Regions from separate parts of the Homo sapiens genome. Here region 2 is linked to region 1. Evidence: promoter capture Hi-C in human tissues and cell types (Jung and others, 2019). All regions are on one chromosome and are shown on one strand. The core of a region is centred on a gene start or on the middle of the fragment in contact, and the rest is flanking DNA. Distances in the headings are between cores, read along the strand shown.

Region 1 (7,751 bases), core at 1,441-3,940:
CGTGCATGTGGATGACTTTGGCTCAGCCCGAGAGCTGGCGGCTTTCCTCACTGGCATGAATGAGAGCCGATACCAACGCTTCTTTGCCTGGCGTGACAGGCTCCGCGTGCGACTGTTCACCGACTGGCGGGAACGTTTCTGTGCCATCTGTGACCGCTACCCACACCTACCCCGCAGCCAAGTCTATGAGGACCTTGAGGGTTGGTTTCAGGCCTGAGATCCGCTGGCCGGGGGAGGTGGGTGTGGGTGGAAGGGCTGGGTGTCGAAATCAAACCACCAGGCATCCGGCCCTTACCGGCAAGCAGCGGGCTAACGGGAGGCTGGGCACAGAGGTCAGGAAGCAGGGGTGGGGGGTGCAGGTGGGCACTGGAGCATGCAGAGGAGGTGAGAGTGGGAGGGAGGTAACGGGTGCCTGCTGCGGCAGACGGGAGGGGAAAGGCTGCCGAGGACCCTCCCCACCCTGAACAAATCTTGGGTGGGTGAAGGCCTGGCTGGAAGAGGGTGAAAGGCAGGGCCCTTGGGGCTGGGGGGCACCCCAGCCTGAAGTTTGTGGGGGCCAAACCTGGGACCCCGAGCTTCCTCGGTAGCAGAGGCCCTGTGGTCCCCGAGACACAGGCACGGGTCCCTGCCACGTCCATAGTTCTGAGGTCCCTGTGTGTAGGCTGGGGCGGGGCCCAGGAGACCACGGGGAGCAAACCAGCTTGTTCTGGGCTCAGGGAGGGAGGGCGGTGGACAATAAACATCTGAGCAGTGCCTCGTGGGTCTGGCCAGTGTCTCATGGGTCACCTCCGTGCAGGGCCACAGAGCCTGCATCTGCCCTCCCCTGACATGTCGCCCCCACGGCCATGGGGCTGCTTGTTCCCCACGGGGGGTCCTGTCGCCTGACTTCTGGGCCTTTGCTCACCCTCCGCCTGAGAGCCCTCCCTGTGCCGGGCTGCCCACTGGCTACCCCAGTTCCTACAGCCTCCGCCAGACGGCCCCTTATCAGAGAGCCTTCTGTGTCCCCCAAAAGGCCAAGGCGATGAGCCCAGGAGTTCGAGACCAGCCTGGGCAGTGTAGTGAAATCTCATCTCTACCAAAAATACAAGAATTAGCAGGGCGTGGTGGCTCACGCTTGTGGTCTCAGCTACTTGGGATACTGAGGTGAGAGGATGGCTTGAGCCCAGGAGGTTGAAGCTTCAGTGAGCCGTGATCACACCACAGCACTCCAGCCTGGGCAACAGAATGAGACCCTGTCTCAAAACAAAAACCAAAACAGGCCAAGGTTGGGGAAGAGTAGGGAACGGACGTCAGAGGCCTGGCCAGGCTGAAATCGCCCATCTCCCAGGCCCGCAGGCTGGAGGGTGTCTGGGGTGACAGGGTCTGACCTGTGCCTTGTAGCTCCCTCTGGTGGCCAGTGCTGGGGAGGCACTGGGGATGCGGCTGCAGCCAGGGAGCCCCTGTAGTGGACGGTGGAGAGTGGGGCGAGGAGGAGAGAGGCCAACCCACGGGTGGTGCTGACCAGGGCCCCAACAGGCTAAGCCCCCGGGGCTGGGGCACAGGGCTTGTCCCTACCCCAGGTAGGGGTGGGCAGGTTGAGGGCAGGAAGCCCCCCTCACCCATGGCTGTGGCTTGTGGGAAAGACCTGCTGGTAGCTTCCTGCCCTGACCCAGCCCTGTGGACTGAGCAGAGAAAAGCAAGTGCCTTGAGGCTGCGGGCTGGGGTGGGAAGCTGATCCCTCACTCACTAGCCCAGGGTCACCTTCCTGCTGCAAAGGAGCTGGGAGGAGTGGGGAGCTGTGGCCTCGGAGGTCTTCATTCACTTGAGGATGCGCCTTCTATGTGCGCCCTGACACTGGACACCACACAGCGCTACTCCACCCCATTCACAGGGGGGAAACTGAGTCTGGGAAGCGCCGTCAGAGCCACCCATGGGGTCAGCCTGTCCTCTGTCGCTCTCTACAGGCCACGCGGAGGAACTGCCCCACCTCCCGGGGCGCCCCAGCAGGTGCCAAGCCACAGCCGCAGAACCGCCTGATCCCGAACTCCCTGTGCAGAGACCAGACTCGCCCGAATATGGGGAGAAAAACGAGCCGCGTGCAGCAGGGGCCGCCTCGGTCCCCTGCCTGCTCCGCTCACGGCGAGCGTTCCTGGGGCCTCGAGTTTCCCCCCTTCCGCTGGCTGCTCGGAATCGCGGGACGGACCCACCTGGCCGCCCTGCCTCCCTTCCAGGTGGGCACCACCTGGACTCCAAGTGCTGGTTTACAAAGCACACAGGAGACCCTTACGGGGGTGAGCTGGCCCCTCGCCAGCGTCCGCTCGGCGCGCCCCGGGGACAGTGAAGGCTTGGGGCGCCTCTGCAGAGTCGCCAGCGCGGTGGGCGCAGCCGGATGCCTCTGGGAGAAGAGCGCAGCGCCCGAGGGTCCCCCGGCCTACGAAGGCTAAGCCGGGGTCTCGGATTCGATGTGGGCGCGTCGCGTGACGCCCGGCGAGGGGCGGCCCGGAGGCTTCCCGGCGGCGGCGCGCGCAGGGTCTCGGGCCCGGGTCGGTCCCGGGCGCGGCGCGGGCGGCGGGCGCCTCCTGGCGGGCGCGGACGGAGCGCGGCGCCTTTAAGCGGGGGCGGGCGGGGCGCGGGCAGAGTCGCTGTCGCCGCGGCCGCCGGGGCGGAGCCAGCGCGGATCGGGTCCCGGACGCCCGAGCGCCCCGCCCCCGCGCGGGCGATGCCCAGCGGCGCGGCGGGCTGCGGGGCCCGGCGGGGCGCGCAGAGGAGCGGGCCGCGGCGCTGAGGCGGCGGAGCGTGGCCCCGCCATGGGCTTCCTGCACCAGCTGCAGCTGCTGCTCTGGAAGAACGTGACGCTCAAACGCCGGAGCCCGGTGAGCCCACCCCACGCGCCCGCCCTCAGCCCGAGGCCGCGCGCACCGCGGCCAGAGGCGCGCTCCCCGCGCGCACGTGCGGACGGCCGGGCGCGCGCAGACCCCGGCGGGCGCTGGGGGCGGCGCGGGCCCGAGCCCCCTCCCCGCCGGGCCCTGCCCTCGCCTGCCGGCGCTGCGGCCTCCGGGGAGGTGGCTCGGTCGTGTCCAGTCCGGTCCCGCGTCCGCTGACATCGCGGTGCTCGGCTGAGTCACGGCACCCGCGCCCTCTGCAGCGCGCTCGCTGGGGCCGCTGTGGGCGGGGGGCAAGCGGCGCTCAGGACTCTGGCTCGAGGGAGGCCCTGGTTCCCAGGACAGAAGGCAGGCCTGGGGGGCTCCATTCAGCTGCGAGGCTCCATGGTCCTTGGGCCCAGCCTCCCTGGGGTCCCGGAGGAGACCCTGTCCCTTCCCTCCGTCCACCCCTCCCCTGCCCTTGGGCCGCGGCCTGCCATAGAGGTTGGTCCCAGGCATCTCTCCGCCTCCCCTCCTGGCACATCCGTGACCCTTGCTCATGCTCTCGCCACTGGGAATGTCCTTGTGCCAGCCTTGGCCAGCCTGAATCTCTGCACCCATTTGTCCTTTGGGGTCAGTTCTCCCCGAGCCTGATCCACTCTGTTGCCTCCTGGTCCCCCCACCTGCTCTGGGGGCTGGGTCTACTGTTTGGAGCTGTGAACCCCGGCTTTCCCAGCACTGCCTGGGCAGCCAGTGGACCTGAGGGTGCAGGACACATGGCTGTCAGGGACAGAAGTCCTTCGTGGAGCGAGGGGCTTGGGGATATGGGTGTCCTGCCATACCCCCAGCTGGCCAGCTTGGCTCCAGCCTGGGAAGGGAAGGGACACCTCCCAGGCCACAGGCCTGGACCAGCTTAGGTTTCTGAAGGCCCTTGGGATTGTCCAGGCCAGGGCTCAGAGCAGGTGGGGGCCTAAGGCAGACATCCTCTTGCCCAGCCAGGGCCCGGGCGGGACCCCTTGGGCTGCACCAGTCCGTGCCTGTTTATCTTTCAACATGCACTGCAGGAAACCCAGGCTGCAGTCAGCTGGGGTGGCCATCATCACCATGGCTGGCAGAATTCCCCTGGGCACCTGGCCTTGGCGGGGAGCCTGGGTTAGGTACATGCCCTGGCCAGGCACCTGGAGCTGGCTGAGTGGGGTCCCATGGATCAGGCCTGCAGCCCCTGGCATTGAGTCACTGGGGACAGCAGAGCAGGGCCAAGGGAACAGGGATGTGGCATGTGGCATGCATTAGTATTAGTCCCCGGGGGTGGTTGTCAGGAAGGTCCCCACTGGGCTTGGGAGCAGAGGCTGGAATGGTGGCCCCTGTTCCAGTGGGGACAATGCTCAGGGAAGGGAGTGTGGCCTATGAGGGCAGCTGGCAAGCAGGTGGGAGGTGTGCACTGTCCTGACCGCAAGAGTGACTCCCAGCTGCTGGTTTGGGCTGCCCCCCAGGACCTTTTTGGGTCCCCACCCTACAGGGCTCCCAGAGGCCCACTGGGCCACAGTGGAGGTCCTTAGCCCATGGCTGGAGCAGGTGGGGAACTGTTTCCCCCAGGGAGGCTGAGTCCTTGCCAGGCTTGTGATGTGGGGCTGGGGCTGGCTGGACACTGGGCACACTCCTGCTGGGTCCCCACTTTCCTGGGAAGGATCTTGGACATCAGAGCTGGACTCTTGGGGCCAAGCTTGGATGACAGAGGTTTGCCCTGTGTGCCATGCGCCCTGCTGGGGCAGGGGTGCACCCTGGGCAGAGCTCCACCCTGGGCAGAGCTCAGGGTCTGGAGGGTGGGTGCCAAGGACCTCTGTGCTGCTAGCAGGCTCCTCCAAGCTCTTTGCCTCAGTTTCCCTGTCTGTGAGTGTGGCCTATCTCCTCTTAGTTAGCTGGACTTGGGTCTACCCTTGGGCTACAGGCTGCTCTTGGTGCAGGGACAGGGTCACTGTCATGAAGTCACTGGGATGGCAGATGGCAGCGCCACCCTCGGGTCTCACCTGTTCTCCCCCCGACACAGTAGGCGGGAGCTACAGGGAGGGGTCATGCCCAGAGAAGGCATCTAGGCCTCCAGGCGATGTGAAGGCACTGGGCTGGTCTCGAGGGACGGAGGTTGGGCCACCTGGAGGCACCTGTGTGGGGCACCCAGGGCGTGCTAGACCTGTGCTGCCGCCTGTAACCAGATGCTGCTGTGGCGCCCGCCGCCTGCCAGCCAGGACTCTCCTCCTCCTCCCAGTAGCTCGTGCGAGGCCGTTGCTATAGCAATGGGGGAGGCAGCCGGGCCTGTTGCTGCAGTTACAGTGCCCATAGCAGGCCGGGTGTGGGCGGGGCTGGCGCCCCGTGCTGTGACCCCTGCCTCTGACATTGCCTCACTCCTGCAGCCACCCTCGCCCTGGTGCCTGTTGGTGCCCACAGTGCCTTGGCGAACCCTGGGCTCCGTCCTGGCTCAGGGAGCGGGTGGAGGCTGGCACGGGCTGGGGCGGGCATGGGACACCCACAGCATGATGTTCCTGGCCACAAAGCCCTATTGTCCAAGCACAGTAAACACAGCAGCCGCCCCCACCCCAGGGACCGGGGACTCGGCCCGGGCCACACAGCACACTGGGGGCTCTGAAGGGTTTTGGGATGGGGATGAGGACAAAGGATGCCTCCGAGCTGGGTGCTCGCCCTCGGGCTAGGGAGGGCAGGGCCCCTCTGTCCTGTGGGTCTCAGAGAGGGCTGGTCTGCCGAGGGCTCTCTGGAGGGTAGCTGGCTCAAGCTCCTCCTCCTCCCTGAGCTGGGGGCTGGGACACAAGAACCGGTAAAGTCCTTGGTTTTCAGGTGAAGTGAGCAAAGCACCTCTTTCTCACTCCACGCAGGTCCCACTAGGGCTCACCTTGGTGCCCAGCCTGGGTTAGCAGGAGCCGACCTGGGGAAACTGAGCTCCAAGGCCCAAGACTGGCTGCCCCGGGTCAGGAGAGGGGACAGGGCAGAAAGAGGTGCCTTTGGGCCAGGTGTGGTGGCTCACGCCCAGGTGGGCGGATCACGAGGTCAGGAGATCGACACCATCCTGGCTAACACGGTGAAACCCCGTCTCTACTAAAAATACAAAAAATTAGCTGGGCATGGTGGCGGGCGCCTGTAGTCCCAGCTACTCGAGAGGCTGAGGCAAGAGAATGGTGTGAACTTGGGGGACGGAGCTTGCAGTGAGCTGAGATCGCACCACTGTGCTCCAGCCTGGGTGACAGAGTGAGACTCCGTCTCAAAAAAAAAAAAAAAAAAAGGTGCCTTTGCTTCAGGGACTGGGGCTGTTAGACCCCTTACCAGGTCTTCTCCGAGGCTCAGGGCCCTGGGCGCAGGCCAAGCCTCTCAACCAGGCCTCCTCATCTCCCCAGGCCCCGGTATTGGTGGGGAGGAAGTGGGAGGAAGGTGAACCCGGGGCAGTGTGGGAAGTGTAGGCGGGGCTAGTGGCTCAGATGGTCCCCAAGATTTTGCCCAGGTAGCCCTGGAGGTGGGGAGGGAGAAGATGAGCTGGGATATACATGGGTCAGAGTAGACCACAAGCTGGCCGATTTGTCCCTGTAGGCCCTGAGGCTCCTCAGAGGGCACGTAGGCCCAGTGTGGGCTGGGGACGGGAAACCTGATTTGCTGAGCCAGACAATCCTTACCCTCAGTGCCCTGGAAGGGGCTCAGACCTTCAGTGGTTCCGAAGGGCCTGTGCCCACCTTCCCTGGCCCCAGGGAGCACGTGGTCCTGTCTGGGCTGGGCCAGCCCTATGGGAGGCTGGGGAGGGCCTAGGCGAGCACAGGTCTGTCCTATCCCTCACTGGGCCCACCCTTTCCAGTGGGTCCTGGCCTTCGAGATCTTCATCCCCCTGGTGCTGTTCTTTATCCTGCTGGGGCTGCGACAGAAGAAGCCCACCATCTCCGTGAAGGAAGGTGAGTGCGGCAGGAGGCCCCAGGCACAGCCGGGGGAGCGCGGCACCTCGCACGCCTGCGCTGTGTGTGCACATCTGCACACGGGTGTCCTGCTCCCGGAGTCCCTGAGGTGCGGTGCCTGCTCCCCTGTGTGGTCCTGGGCCGTGCCTCCTGGCTGGGCTGTGGAGGTCGGGGCTGGCCTGTGGCCGCGAATGATGATGCCAACGCCTCTTCCTGGTGATGTGGGCACTCACTGGTCTCCTCTGTTCTGTTTTGATCCCCCTCCCTCCCCGCATGGTCTCTTGTCCTCGGCTGGCATGCAGTCTGTAAGTGAGCGGCCACCTCCTCCTGGCTGGCCTGGGCAGCAGCTGCGGGGGGCCCATGGGCCGTCCTGGCTTGAGCGCCCTCCCCGCTTGCATTAACAGCCCTCCCGGGCCCCCTGCCGGCCTCAGGAACAGCTGGCTCCAGATGGGGGGTGGCAGGCAGTGAAGTGGGAGGTGGTAGGGAGTGAAAGGCCCGGCCACCTAAAGGCACAGCTGGTGCCTGGGTCAAGCTGAGGCGGCATCTCTCTGCCTGGCCTTGCCTTCTAGGGCTGGGGTGCCTCGGCTTCTGGGCTGAGTCTGGGCTGAGGCTGGGCTGGCCTGGGCTGGGGCTGGAGCGGCCTGGCTACTCTCCCTTCATACTCCTTCAGGCTCTTGCACTCACTCTGCTAACCAGCTGGCCAGAGGTCAGAGGTCACTGCCCAGAGGGGGTCCTTTGTCCTCCCCTGGGCTCTGTAGGCAGTGCCACACCTGAAACGTTTTCGGGGGGAGAGTGCCAGGGCATGTGGGCCTGCACTGGCTGAAAGGAAAGGAATGCTCTGGGAGTTATGGCAGAAGGGGTGGTGAGTGGCTCTTTGACCTCTGACCTGCTGGAGTCATTCGCCCCAGAACGCTTGGCCTGTAGCCCAGCTGGGGCCAGGGCTCTGTGCCGCCTTCTCCCTAACGCT
Region 2 (7,751 bases), core at 2,757-5,256, 100 kb after region 1:
AACCCAGCCATTGAAAAACATCTTGATAAAATGTCTAGTCATGATAAAAAAAAAAAAAAAAAACCCTAGAAGCAAACTAGAAGTAGAAGGGAACTTGCTCAACCTGATAAAACAGCATCACCAAAAATCCCCGTGGGTAACATGATACATAATTGTGAAAGCAAGAAAGCTTTCCCCAAGAGTGGGAATGAGGAAAGGCTATAGACTCTTACCATTACTATTCAACCTTATAAACGGGAAGTCAGCCAATGGAACAAGGCAAGCAAAAGAAATAAAAGGCATAGAGATTGAATAAAAAGAAATAAAACTGTCCTTATTAATGGATGACATATTGTTCACACATAAAATCCCCCCAAATCTATAAAAACAAACAAAATCCTAATCTCCTACAACCAGTAAGTGAATTCATCAAGGTTATGAGGTATAAGAACAACACATAAAAATCAGTTTTGTTTTTAAACACTGGAAATATACAGTCAGAAACCAAAATTCAAAAAACAACCTCTTACAACAGCTCAAGAAACAAAGTAAGCTGTGGGATAGGAAGCAATAAATAAGTAAAAGAAACACTGAAGCATAAACCTACTAAAACATGTACAAGATATGTATACTGGCTGGGTGTGGTGACTTTTATGCCCATAATCCCAGCACTTTGGAAGGCAGAGGTGGGTGAATCACTTGAGTCCAGGACACCAGCCCAGGCAACATGGCAAAACCCTATCTCTACAAAAAATACAAAAATTAGCCGGGCGTGGTGGCACACACTTGTAGTCCCAGCTACTTAGGAGGCTGAGGTGGGAAGATCCATTGAGCCCAGGAGGTCAAAGCCACAGTGAGCTGCGATCATGCCACTGCATTCCAGCCAGTTCAACATACATATGAAATACTACAAAACGCTGATAAAGAATAGAGATAGACTATGTTCATGGATTGTCTGACTCAACACAGATGTCAATTCTCCCCAAACTGATGTGTAGACTTAACGCAATTCCAATCAAAATCCCAGAATTTTTTTGTAGTTGACTGTGAAATATATATGTACTGTCAAACAAACAAAAATAGGGAAAACAATTCTGAAAAACAACAACTGGCTGGGCGTGGTGGCTAATGCCTGTAATCCCATCACTTTGGGAAGCTGAGGCAGGCGGATCACTTGAGCCCAGGAGTTTCAGGCCAGCCTGGACAACAGAGAGACCCTGTCTCCGGCTGGGTGCAGTGGCTCATGCCTGTAATCCCAGCACTCTGGGAGGTCGAGGTAGGCAGATCTGAGGTCAGAAGATCGAGACCATACTGGCCAACATGGTGAAACCCCGACTCTACTAAAAATACAAAAAAATTACCTGGGTGTGGTGGCATGCACCTGTAATCCCAAATACTTGGAAGGCTGGGGCAGGAGAATCGCTTGAACCAAGGAGTCAGAGGTTGCAGTGAGCCAAGATGGGTCACTGTACTCCAGTCTGGTGACAGAGCGAGAGTCTGTCTCAAAAAAAAAAAAAAAAAAAAAAAAAAAAAAAAAACTCTATCTCTACTAAAAATTTAAAAAATTAACCGAGTGTGGTGGTGTGCCTGTGGTCCCAGCTACTTGGGATGCTTGAGGTGGGAAGACCTGCTTGAGCCTGAGGTCTCGAGGGTGCAGTGAGGTAGGATTTGTACCACTGCACTCCAGCCTAGGCAACAGAACGAGACTGTGACTGTCTTTAAAAAAAAAAAAAAAAAAAAAAAAAAAAAAAGGGCAGGGCAGGGCAAACGAAAAAAAAGAGAAAAGAAAACGAAAAGAAAAAAGGAAGGAGGGAGGGAGGAAAAAGGAAAAAAAGAAAAAGAGAAACAAGAATAAAGTTTGGCCAGGTACAGTGACACATGCCTATAATCCCAGCACTTTGGGAGTCCAAGACAGGACAGTGTGAGACCAGGAGTCTGAGACCACCCTGGGCAACATAGTGATATTCTGTCTCTACAAAAATTAAAGAAAATAAGCTGAGCACGATGGTGTGAACCTGTAGTCGCAGCTACTTGGGAGGCCTAGGTGGGAGGATCACTGGAGCTCAGGGGTTTGAGGCTGCAGTGAGGTAGGACTGCGCCATTGCGCTCCAGCCTGGGTGACAGAGCAAGACCCTATATCTTAAAAAGAAATTAAAAAAGAATGCTGACAACACAAAGTGCCCACAAGGATGTGGAGCAGCGGGAACTGTGGCTCATGCTGGCATTCCACAACAGGCTACAGCTATTCTGGAAAGTGCTTGGCAGTTTCTTTTGAATTTAAAAATACACTTACTGTGTGATCCAGCAGCCCCACTGCTAACTACCTTAATGAAATAAAAACTTGCTCAACAACCTGTACACAAATGTTTATAGCAGCTCTATTCAGACCTGCAAAACATTAGAAACAACCCAAACACCCTTCAACAGGTGACGAGACAAACTGATCCATCCATAGAGCACTACTCCAAAAAAAACAAAAAAAAAAGAGAGAAAACAAATGCTGATGCACGCATCCTGATCAGTCTCAGCGGCGTTCTGCAGATCTCGCTGCTCCCAGCCACGCATTGTAGGACTCCATTATGGGACCTTCTTGGAAAGACATAACTACAGTGGTGGAGGACAGGTGTGTGGCTGCCACGGGTCGGGGTGGTGACTATGGGGAAAGTGGAACAGTCTTCTGAGATGGCAGGGCTCGCCTGTCTCCCAGGTATGGTGCTTACCCACATCTGCACAGGTGTGAACATCCATGGAATTGAATGTTCCATGAACAAAACAAAAGAACAAATCAATTTTACTACGTGAAATTTAAAAATGTTATTAGGGGCCAGGTGCAACACCTGCAATCCCAGCACTTTGGGAGGCTGAGGTGGGCAGATCACCTGAGGTCAGCAGTTCGAGACCAGCCTGGCCAACATGGTAAAGCCCTGTCTCTACTAAAAATACAAAAATTAGCCAGGCGTGGTGGCTCACAGCTGTAATCCCAGCTACTCAGGAAGCTGAGGCAGGAGAATTGCTTGAACCTGGGAGGCGGAGGCTGCAGTGAGCCGAGATTGTGCCATTGTATTCCAGCCAGGAAGACAGAACGAGATTCCGTCTCAAAAAAAAAAAAAAAAAAAAAAAACACTTCCTGAGGGAGATGTAAGGTGACACAAAAGTTCGGCAATTCCTCCAAGAGCTGAACAAGCGGCCCAGCAGCTCTACTCCTCGGTATAAATATTCAAGAGAAATGAAAACAAATACACGTCCCCATAAAAACTTGTTCACAAATGTTCACAGCAGCATTTTCAGAGTAGCCAAAAAGTAGAAACCACCCAAATGTCCAGCAACGGATGAATGGATAAATAAGGTGTGGTGCATCCATACAAGAGATTATTCAGCCATTAGAAGGAATGAAACTCCAATGCATGCTGCAACACACAGGAACCATGAAAATATCTTGCTGAGTAAAAGCAAAGGCCACATTCACATGAATGTCCTGAGTAGGCAAATCTATAGAGACAGAAGGTAGGTTTATGGCTGGCTGTCAGGGGCTGAGCGGGAGGGAACAGTGACTGCTAAGGGAAGGTTTCTCTGCAGGGTGATGAAATGTCCCAAAATTAGGTAGTGACGATGGTACCTCTGTGGGTTTGCACAGAGCCTGTCACTTCCCCAGAAGGCCATGAGGCGGCTGGGCCAGGCCTGCCCACGGGGCTGCTCCAGAGCATTTTGTCCCTCAAGGGCCTTGGTCTGCTTCGTGGGAGCCTCTTGGTGTGGCAGCCAGTGCCTAGGGAATTGTTCCGAGTGCAGACCTCTGCCCCTTCTGCAGCCTGGAGCCCGATGCTGCTCTCACTGCGTGGGGGGTGCGGTCCTCAGCTCTTCCCCAGGTTCTCCAGACCTCCATCTCCACTGCAGGGAGGTGAGGGCCAGGAGGACCATCCGGCTGCTCTGGCAAAGGACCTCCAAGGTAGCTGCTCTGCCCCGTCTTTCAGTTGATCCACTTTTAGACTCTGCTCCATGCCAGGGCCTCCCGGTGTGGCCAGCTTCCCCCTCAGCCCTCTTCTGCTCAGCAGCCACCCACCAACCCACTTCCCACCTTCCAAAATGGGTTCAAATCCTTTGTGGGATGTTGGCTTCTTCCCCATCTTTGTCCCTGGGGGAGGATTTTTTTTTGGTCCATTCCTCTCATTTCACAGTTCCATTTCGTTTTAAGTGAGAAGAGATGACCTCAATCAATCTGTTTTAACAAACTGCAGTGACCCAGCAAAACCTGTCACATACAAACAAATCCCCAAATATAGAAGCCCAGTATGTTAAAGACAAAACTTCACAATCATTAGACGAAAACATGACAGTGGTTTCCAGCCTCAGGGAAGGTCAGGATGTTCTGAGTCGGTCGGAAATAGCACCATTCATAAAGGATAAGATCAGCTGATCATGTGTAAGGCTTAAGCTTCTGCACATCAGGAGCAACAGAAACGCAGTTCAAAGACACAACCGAGAATCCGTAATCAGGAATATCAGGAACTCCTACCAACCAGCAGAATAAGACCCAGACCAACAACCAGAAGAAAAATGAGAAAAAGACATCAACAGGCAATTCGCACGGGAGAGAATCCAAGGGAGAGGTAAGCGTGGTAAAGACGCCTGACTCCGCCGAGTCATCAGAGAAACGCACGTGACAGCGATGCCACTTCACTTCACACACAGCACGCTGCAGCATCTCAATTCCAACAACACGAAGCACGGGCAGGGATGGGAGGGATGGGAGTGATGGGAACCCTCCCCCTGGTGCTGGTGGAAGGACCGGATGCAGCCCCTCTGCAAAGCAAGCTGGCAACTGCTAAAAAGGGGAGGCCTAGAAACCACCAACCCTCCTTCCAGGTTGACAGGAGACCCACGAGAGCAGGTCTGGCTATCTCCAGTCACCAAACCCTGAAGACACGGGAAGAGACTGGAAGGTGCTCTCTAGGGAACTCACACACGGCAGTCAGAATCCACCATGTAGAGTGCCCAGCACAAGATGCATTAAAAGTAGCCAGGCTGAGTCAAAAGCCCAGCTACCTGCAGCTGACCCAGTGGATGGTTTCTGCATTTTTAATGCAATATTCTTATTTGTGAATACAGAAACGTACAGATGCAAAATTCTAAAGCCCAAAGAGAACCGGAACGCCTCAATTCCCGCCACGTGGCCTGGGGAGCTGAGGTGAGGCCGGGAAAGGGAACAGCAGGGCTCTGCAATGCTTGCTCTTTAGGCCCAGTACACACTCACGGAACACAGACAATGCCCGTCGGTCAGCTCCGTGCCTGAGTTATTTTCTGTACTTTTCTGTGGTCAACTTCTCAAACTACAGCAGTGCGTGAAGACGTCGAGAGGGGACAGCACTTTATCCTGGACCCCGATACAGATGCCCAGTAGGTCCCAGCACGGCTGCCCTGACACCGAGTGTGAAGCCGTGCCTACGCCTGCCTGCACTGTCCCAAAAACACACCACAGGGGCGGTGCAGCCAGGACCCTCGGTGTGGCCAGGACCCCCCGGGTGCAGCCAGGATGCTCGGTGGAGCCTGTGCACAGAAAGGCAGGACCAGGGCTGGCTCATCCTCATTCTGCTCTCACAGGAGTCCCTGGGGAGGCCCAGGAGAGGAGATGGACAGGGAAGAACATTCCAGAAGAGGGAACAAGGCTCGAGAAGAGGGAGCTTACATCAGGTGAGGAACAGAGAACACAGCCTGGCTAGCTAGAGAAGCAGGCAGGGGCTAGGCACCCCGTGGGGAGGGGTCTGTGAGAGGAGAGGCCAGGAGGACCCGCAGAGGGTCACCACTGCCAAGGCTGGAAGCCGCAGGCAACCTGGAATCAAATGGATGCCACTGACCACAGAGATTTGAATGGTTTAATAACTCTGTCTTCGTGAGCTGGATGGCAAGCTCTCACACTTTACCCGCAGGCTGTGCTGTGCACCTCCCACACAGTGGTCTGAGCAGAGGCGGCGTGGGACCAGACCCTCTCCCACAGCCAGCCTGGCCAAGGTGGCACAGACCAGAGCTCTGTGCAGACAAGCACCCAGGGGTCTAGGAATGCTCCCTTCTCTCCAGGGGCCAGAGGGGAGAACCAAGCTGCTCAGCCTTCCTTGCTCTGGCCAGCAGGAGGCCCTTCTCCTGGAGCAGCCCTCGTTTCTGCCTGTCATGCCCGAGGGACACAAGGCCATCCACTGTGCTCCTGCTACATGGGCACTGCTGGGATGTGCTCCCACTCTGAGTGTCCCCCACCCAGGGCCTCTCCCTTCACTGCACAGGACAGCAAGGGCAGCTTGTGCTGGGAAGCACCCGAAGACCCTCGGCCAATGCCACCACAGCCCTTGGCTAAGACCGTCTGCCAAGCCCCTCCGCAGTCTCTGAAATCTGAGGACTGGCTGGTGGCTCCTTCCCCCGTGACAGTGAACTTGGCTGCAGGCCGACACCCTCCCAAGCGCCCAAGCGCGGCCCCTGCCCACTTGTACAGTGAGACCCTGGCCCAGCGTGGTGGCCCCTCCGTGAGCCGGCTGTGCCTGGCTGCCCCCAACCCCCAGACACCAGTAGGGGGCAGTTAGAGCCCTGTCAGGTCCACAATGGCCTTGATGAAGATGGCATCGTCCCGCACGTAGGAATTCTTTGCCTCCATCTTGGAGACGGGGCAGAAGAGGGGGCAGCCGCTTGCGATGTTCATGTCGTTGACTGGCCTCTGAAAAGAGGATGAAGTCACGTCGGGCCTGAAGGCGTCAATCACGTGCTCCCGGTTATTCTGGTCGAGCAGCATTAAGGTCACCTGGAGGAGAGAGCCCCAGGGAGGGGACACAGGTCTGTGGGCCGTCTCTCTCTGGCTCCCGAGGGTCTGGACACTGGCAGGGCCACCAGCAGGAGGCCATCCCAGGACCCAGGCCAGAGGCTGAGGCCCAGCCGAGACCACGTGGTGGGCGGCCTTGCTCCTGCCACAGCGCCCGGGCTCCCCAGCCCTCCCCAGCCACCGGCATTCCGCTTCTCTCTGGGGAATCTGTGTCCATTCTGGCCTTTCCTGTCCACTGACATCTGGAGTCCTAGACTAAAGCTTACCACTCCTGAACTTGAATTATTATTAGGAAAATGCAAAAAATAACACATCTGGCAAAGACATTTTCTTGCCAAAGAGATCATGAAGCACCCACTGCCCACTCGTGAAGAGCACTTTTCAGGGAGAACCTGAGTCTGCCTCTGTCAGGACTGTGAACCTGGATGCCCCAGGACAGACAAGGGCCTGTGGGCCCTCCACACCCCCTCCCCCACCCAACTCTGCTCTGCCTACTCCACTAGCTATAGGGGGTGGGGGAAGTAGCAAGTCTGGGCCAACTGTGGCAAAAGGAAGGGACCTTCTCTCATTCCAGTCTAGTCTCTGCATCTTCAATTCCACAAAATAATAGATTCTGATTTTCAAAATAGGCCAGGCACAGTGGCTCACGCCTACAATCCCAGCACTTTGGGAGGCCAAGGTGGGCGGATCACAAGGTCAGGAGATCAAGACCAGCCTGGCCAACATGGAGAAACCCCATCTCTACTAAAAATACAAAAATTAGCTGGGCGTGGTGGTGCATGCCTGTAGTCCCAGCTACTCAGGAGGCTGAGGCAGGAGAATCGCTTGAACCCAGGAGGGGAGGTTGCAGTGAGCCGAGATCATGCCACTGCACTCCAGCCTGGGCGACAGAGCAAGACTCCGTCTTAACAATAAGTAAATAAATAAATGACACCTCCGACGAAGAGGGCTCCGAAGCTGTGTTCCTTCCTCTGCA

Evidence for each region. The method cuts DNA at HindIII sites, captures the fragments that hold promoters and counts their contacts. A contact is called where the count stands out against the background at its distance.
Region 2: a fragment that was not itself captured here is called in contact with the fragment with the promoter of ABCA2 in region 1 in 2 of the 25 tissues and cell types used here (dorsolateral prefrontal cortex and lymphoblastoid cells).

What each region holds. Positions count from the first base shown.
Region 1 is chr9:137,023,176-137,030,926 of GRCh38, reverse strand. It overlaps ABCA2 (ATP binding cassette subfamily A member 2), which reads left to right and starts at 2,690. Exons shown (of 49, transcript NM_001606.5): 1 at 2,690-2,852; 2 at 6,691-6,784; 3 at 7,087-7,089. The coding sequence starts at 2,787. It overlaps LINC02908 (long intergenic non-protein coding RNA 2908), which reads right to left and starts at 3,463. Exons shown (of 3, transcript NR_171031.1): 1 at 3,016-3,463. FUT7 (fucosyltransferase 7) reads left to right here. Exons shown (of 2, transcript NM_004479.4): 2 at 1-753. The coding sequence ends at 217. RefSeq lists an enhancer at 1,805-2,549 and a silencer at 2,433-2,612. The HindIII fragment of the contact is 11,656 bases long and covers 1-2,870 here.
Region 2 is chr9:136,924,689-136,932,439 of GRCh38, reverse strand. TRAF2 (TNF receptor associated factor 2) reads right to left here. Exons shown (of 11, transcript NM_021138.4): 11 at 5,833-6,757. The coding sequence ends at 6,539. Among named protein-coding and RNA genes, the nearest start is that of FBXW5, 16 kb to the left of the region's middle. The HindIII fragment of the contact is 3,433 bases long and covers 2,290-5,722 here.